Regions from separate parts of the Homo sapiens genome. Here region 2 is linked to region 1. The links are contacts of gene promoters, found by promoter capture Hi-C in human tissues and cell types (Jung and others, 2019). All regions are on one chromosome and are shown on one strand. Each heading gives the region's core, a stretch centred on a gene start or on the middle of the fragment in contact. The rest is flanking DNA. Distances are from core to core; before and after follow the strand shown.

What was found. The method cuts DNA at HindIII sites, captures the fragments that hold promoters and counts their contacts. A contact is called where the count stands out against the background at its distance.
Region 2: a fragment that was not itself captured here is called in contact with the fragment with the promoter of NEUROG3 in region 1 in 1 of the 25 tissues and cell types used here (aorta).

Annotation. Positions count from the first base shown.
Region 1 is chr10:69,571,683-69,574,867 of GRCh38, forward strand. NEUROG3 (neurogenin 3) reads right to left here and starts at 1,740. Exons shown (of 2, transcript NM_020999.4): 1 at 1,528-1,740; 2 at 16-1,362. The coding sequence starts at 1,361. The coding sequence ends at 717. LOC101929021 (a long non-coding RNA gene) reads left to right here and starts at 1,275. Exons shown (of 4, transcript XR_946037.2): 1 at 1,275-1,385. RefSeq lists an enhancer at 1-533 and a silencer at 1,791-2,010. The HindIII fragment of the contact is 13,443 bases long and covers 1-3,185 here.
Region 2 is chr10:69,440,121-69,443,072 of GRCh38, forward strand. No RefSeq gene overlaps it. Among named protein-coding and RNA genes, the nearest start is that of TSPAN15, 9.9 kb to the right of the region's middle. The HindIII fragment of the contact is 5,755 bases long and covers 1-2,952 here.

The DNA of each region.
Region 1 (3,185 bases), core at 490-2,989:
AAAAAAAGATGCGCGGTGCTCCAGGCACCTGCAGCGCAGCTCACGTTTCAGGCGCAGTTCGCAGGGAGGCTGGGGAGATGCTCCCTGGCCGGGCTAGCGCTTTCCCAGTTCACAGCCTGGTCTTCCGCCCCGGGAGGGCAATGGCTCCGAAAAGTGCACGAGGAGAAGGCAGAGGGTCGCCTTCGTGGCTTTAAGGCAGAGTGAGGCGCCCTGAAATCCCGGACCTGATTGGGAGTAGAGCAGATCGGCAGCGTCTTTGGAGCAAGGCAAGGGGAGTAAGCGCTGAGAGACCAAACATTGGATTGAATCACATTGGAGGAGGGGTGGTAAGAGACTGAGAGGCAGACAGACTTGAGTGAGGGTAGGGCGACCCAAGACGGTGGGCGGCTCCGGCCGGGTAGTGCTACCATTCTAGTATTCTTTGAATGAGATTATGGGGTGGTGGCAGAGAGGAGGCCTAAAATGAGCGCACTTTGCAATGCCCACTTCGCGCGGGCAGCAGCAAGGGTTGCGTGCGTTGGCGCGGCTCGGAGGGCCGGGGAATGAACCCAGCCTGCCGCCCCCGTGGAGGCCTGGGCCGGCCAGGGGTCAGCCAGGGAGAAGCAGAAGGAACAAGTGCTTTTGAGGGCCGCCGCCGTCGGCCACCCTCTACGGCTCCCGGCTCCCTCCCTCTCCCTTACCCTTAGCACCCACAGCCCAGCGACAGACAGGTCCTTTCACAGAAAATCTGAGAAAGCCAGACTGCCTGGGCTCAAGCAGGCGGAAAAGGTGGCCCCCAGCAGCCCGGGTCGCTCCTCCAGCGACGCGGCGGGACTCAGGCTGCCAGCCTGGGAGACTGGGGAGTAGAGGGACCCCCAGTCCCCGGGGGAACCGCCTGGGCTGCCCAGCTCCCCGCAGTGCGGCGCCGGCGGCTCCAGCGCGTACAAGCTGTGGTCCGCTATGCGCAGCGTTTGAGTCAGCGCCCAGATGTAGTTGTGGGCGAAGCGCAGCGTCTCGATCTTGGTGAGCTTCGCGTCGTCTGGGAAGGTGGGCAGGACACCGCGCAGGGCGTCCAGTGCCGAGTTGAGGTTGTGCATTCGATTGCGCTCGCGGTCGTTGGCCTTCTTTCGCCGACTCCGTCGCTGCTTGCTCAGTGCCAACTCGCTCTTAGGCCGGCTGCGTCCCCCGCGCCGTGCCCGGAGCTTCCTCGGGGCCCCTCGGCAGCCTCCCTCTTCCGCCTCTGCGCAGTTCCCCCGTGTGCGAGTGGGGCTGGGCGGGGCGGACGTGGGGCAGGTCACTTCGTCTTCCGAGGCTCTGGGGAAGGACCGCTCCGTCTCACGGGTCACTTGGACAGTGGGCGCACCCGAGGGTTGAGGCGTCATCCTACGGCGGGGTCAGAGGGAAGGGTAAGTTTGAGTCCGTCACTGGGCGCAGTCCGCGATTCCGAGGCTAGGTGGGAAAAAACAAAAACAGCCATCCTCCCAGCCCCCGCTGGGTCAGAGGATCCCTCTTTCCCCTGCCCGTCCCTCGGAGGCCTCCAAATATTACCTTTCTACCGGCGCAAAAGAATAGAGAGCGATGAGCAGCGAGGGCCGTGGGGAGCTCAGCGGGCTTCTGGTCGCCAAGTTCAGCTGAGCTGCAGGCGCCCCCGCCTGGGAGTTGCCCCAGCCCCAAAGGAGAAAAGAAGAGAGAATGGGGTCCGAGGCCTCTGTCACGCTCTCTCTCGAGGCGCGGCGGTGAGACCGCAGGGATTTCCTGAGCAGCAAGTCGTGTGCCCCTTGGCACGCTTTATCTGCTTCGCCCGGGCCAGGAGCGTGCCTGCCCGGCTGCTGCCCGCGCCACCGGCCAATCAGCGCCGGGGCCCTGGGGCCGCGCCACGCGAGCCCGCTCCTCCCCCGCAGGGCACAGCTGGATTCCGGACAAAGGGCCGGGGTCGGGGGAGGGGAGCGCCGCTCTGTTTGCTCTCTCGAGGGCGGGCTGGGTCCCAGCAACTCTCGGTTCCTCAAAGAGCCTCGCCCAGTGAGAAGAGCCTCGTGTGGCTCTGGTCAGGCCACCTCAGACGGCTTTGCTCCTAGCCTATCTTTCCTTAGCATCTGTCCTGGAGGGGACTTTGATGCCTCTAGGGTACAATGCCTGCACGTTACACATGGGGAAATTTAGGCTTAGTGAGGGAGGTGGCTTGTCTGAAATCGCACAGGAAGATAGTGGCAAAGACAACCACGAGCTCATTGTCCTGACTAGCAGCCTGGAGAAGGGTCCAGGAATTCTAAAGGACGCCCTGCTCTCCTGGTGTTTCACTGCCTCTCTTCATCCTGGAAGACAGGGGACATCACTGAGAGAGATCCTGCCTATGTCCCTTCCATTCGCAGACCTTTTGGGGGTGTCCGAGCCTCTGCCACACCCTGAGATGCTACCTCACACTCCCCAGAGGCGCTTAGAACCCCACCCCCATAGATCCCACTCCAGAGGCAGGGGTTGGCTGTGCGGGGACCCCTCAAGCGGACATTCCATTACTACAAGCCTACTACAGCTTGTAGATAGTATCCCAGCGTTCTGGCCAGGAACCGTGACAGGAAGAGTTCTGGGAAGTGTGAGGAGGGGAGGAAGGAACCAGGAGTTCACAGTGAGCTCTTGCTTCTTTTTTTTTTTAAACGAACAAACAAAACCAAAAAACGGTCTCCTTCTGTCGCCCAGGCTGGACTGCAGTGGTGCAATCACAGCTCACTGCAGCCTTGATCTCCTGGGCTCAAGCTATCCTCCCACTTCAGCCTTCCCAGTAGCTGAGACTACAGGCATGCGCCACTGTGCCCGGCTAATTTATTTGTATTTTTATTTTGTATGGGGTGAGGGGCGGTCTTGCTTTGTTGCCCAGGATGGTCTCGAACTCCTGGGCTCAAGCGTTCCTTTCACTTCAGTCTCCCAAGGCGCTGGGAAGCAGAGCTGCTGTGCCCCTCCCCCTCGTGTCTTTTGAACTACCACAGCGTGCAGGCACTGGGAGAAGCTGATAAACTTTTTCTCCCCTTAGTCCTCCGGTCCAATCACAGACAGACAGCAGCTGCCAGCAGTCACCTGCTCCAGCCCCCTGCCTCTGCATCACTCGGGCATCGCACAGAGAGCACAAGGCAGGGACTTCCCCAGCCCCTTGGGTTGTCCCTGGTAGCGCTCTCTGGAAACCTTTCCAAAGGGACTCTGAACTCATCATCCCT
Region 2 (2,952 bases), core at 170-2,669, 130 kb before region 1:
GAATCTCTCAACTGGAAAACGTGCAAAGGATAAAAACAGGAAATTTTCAGAACTGTATATCCTCAACCTCACTAATCATCATAGACATGAAAATTAAACAGGATATTTTTCACTTAGAAAACATTTTATTGTGCAATACAGCCCATAAATAGAAGAGGACACAAACTTAAATATATAGCCGTGAGCAATACACCACCCTTTTAGCTTGAGTTTCTCTATCCACTCATGTGGATGTTGGACACAATTATGTCTAAAGATCCTCCCAGCTCTGGGACCTCTTGAATCATCACTACTGTCAGTCTTGGTTTACTGCTAATTCCCTCAATGACCTGGGGAAATAGTCTAACCTGTTTTCTCATTTGTAATTGGGCATACAAACAGCTACACACCCTGCCTCACAGCACTGATTTAGGTGGGTCCAAAAAGATTAAAAGCTTTTTTTTAGGTATAATAAACTATCAAGCAATCCAAAAAATTTTGACAGAGAAAGCCAGCCAGAAGACAGATACCTTACAACGGCGGATGCCAAGTACAGGGCCAGCCCTGCACTGTCAGGAAGGGAAGTGGCCCTGGGGGTCTCTGAGGCTTTCCCTCTGAGGGTGAGGGAAGATTTTGCCTCTACTCTCTGAGGGTTTCATACACACACACACACACACACACACACACACACACACACACACCCGAAAAATGAACAAGTCCCAAAAGATGCGCAGTTGCACCTGGGGTCCAGGCTGGGAAACTAGTCATATGGGAGAAGAATGACTGCATTTTTTTTTTTTTTTTTTTTTTTTTTAGACAGAGTCTTCCACTGTTGCCCAGGCTGGAGTGCAGTGGTGTGATCTTGACCCACTGCAACCTCTGCCTCCCGGGTACACAAGTGATTCTTGTGCCTCAGCCTCCAGAGTGAGATTACAGGCACCCACCACCATGCCTGGCTAATTTTTGTATTTTCAGCAGAGACGGGGTTTCATCAGGTTGGCCAGGCTGGTCTCGAGCTCCTGACCTCAAATGATCTGCCCACCTTGGCCTCCCAAAGTGCTGGGATTACAGGCGTGAGCCACCGTACCTGGCCTGACATCTGCATGTTTCTATTTGAGGAGAACTCCCTTCCACCATGTTCTTTTATAGAGGTGTGACCTCATCCTTACAAATGGAGGTACAATATATTTTGGGAAATAGTTATTATTATATTGAACTTAATGTTGTGTGTGCTGCCCCACATACCCGCCCCACTGGGAGGGTACATCATATTACATCATGAAATGGCCCAGCACCCCTATGCTTAGTGACCCGCTAGCCTTCCCCAACTCATGCACCCAGCCATTACCCAGGGGCAGTGCACAATCAGAGCCTGTCGCCTCAAAAAGGCTCACTGGACACAGTAGAACTCTAGCAGGCTCTGCCAGCTCCTGATCGCATTCCCAGCCCTGGGACCCCAGCCTGGAGTGACCATCTCCTGTAGCATATAACCACTTGCCAGATTCAAGACCCTCTAGTTTGGTTCTGTCATCTGGCCTGGGCCATTGTCCCCAGGACTCCCCAGATGTCCCCTTCTAAAGGCTGAAGATAGTTCCTCTGTGGGTTCCATAGGCTTCATACACCTGCTGGTATCACCTCTCTGCTCCCCCGACCACTGATGGGGATAAAGGCCCAGAAAGCCTGCTGAAGTCTCAGAACTTAAAGAACCTGACTTATGTCCCACTTCCACCCCCAAACACACAGACAGAACCTCAGGGTATGAAGAGCAGTTCCCACCACACTCAATACCTTTCTACATCACCTTCAATGACTGCACAGGGCTCACAGCATGGTTGTGCCAATCACCCAGTAATAGACACCATGGTTGGTCAGTTAGGTCTTCATGAGGCCATCCACTCTCCCCAGCTGGTAGTCAGGAGCAGCCTTTCAGCAGGGAGAGCAGGGGACAGGAGGAAGGACAGGAGTCCTGGGGTGGGGGCTGCAAGGACGGCTGTTCAGTAACCAAAGGTAGGAATGGGCCTAGGGATGCATGGAAGAGGATCTGGGCAGTCGGCCTTCTGTGGGGGCAGTGGTGGGGCTGCAGAAAGGAAGCCAAAAGGAGCAGGGCTTTTAGAGGCAGCTCTCTGAGGGATTTCCAAAACAAGAAGCCGCTGGGGTGACCCAGGCCCTTCTGAGTAATGAGCATTTTGCATGTCCTTGGAGGCTGTTGTCCCAAATCCCCTCGGGCCCAAAGTCACTAAAGTGTGCCCATCACCCCATGCAGGACCCTAAGCGGTGTGATCATAGCCTAGTCTGGTTGTTTGACAATCATTGCAGAATAAGTTGTGTAATTTGCAAAGTCAAGCACAAAACATAAATAATCACTGTTGTCTTTAATTTTCCTCTTAAGTATAGAGCATAAAACTTTGAGGAGGTTGCTTTCAACTTCAAAAGAATTAGGAACTAGTGCCATGGGATAGCATTTCCCGAAGTACATTTCCAGATATGCTAGTTCCTTGAGATGTTAATAGCTGGTGTCTGGGGAAAATGTTGTGTCCTCAAATACAGTTGAGAGAGGCTACACATCCTTCTTTCCTCTTAGAGACACACAATACTGCATCCGTTCTCATTAAAGGCTATGAAGAAGTCCTGCAGTATTTCCCAGACTTATTTAATGGATCCTTTTTTAAAAAACAAACAAACAAACACTTAAAATCTCTTGGAACTACTATTTTGCAGTAACCTGCCTCTCCATGTAAAGTTTCAACTCCAACCAGTATTGAACTGCCAATATTTGAGCTGAGTGTATTGTTCCAATTTGCTTTTTAACCACTTAGTTAAATGATTTTATTCTAACATAGCTGGGGCTACAACTGCATTGGAGTAAAAAGCACATTGCTTGCTGGGTCAGGGGGCACTTTAACTTCTTTTTTTTTTTTTTTTTTTGAGATGGAGTCTCGCTCTGTTGCCCAGGCTGGAGTGCAGTGGAGCGAT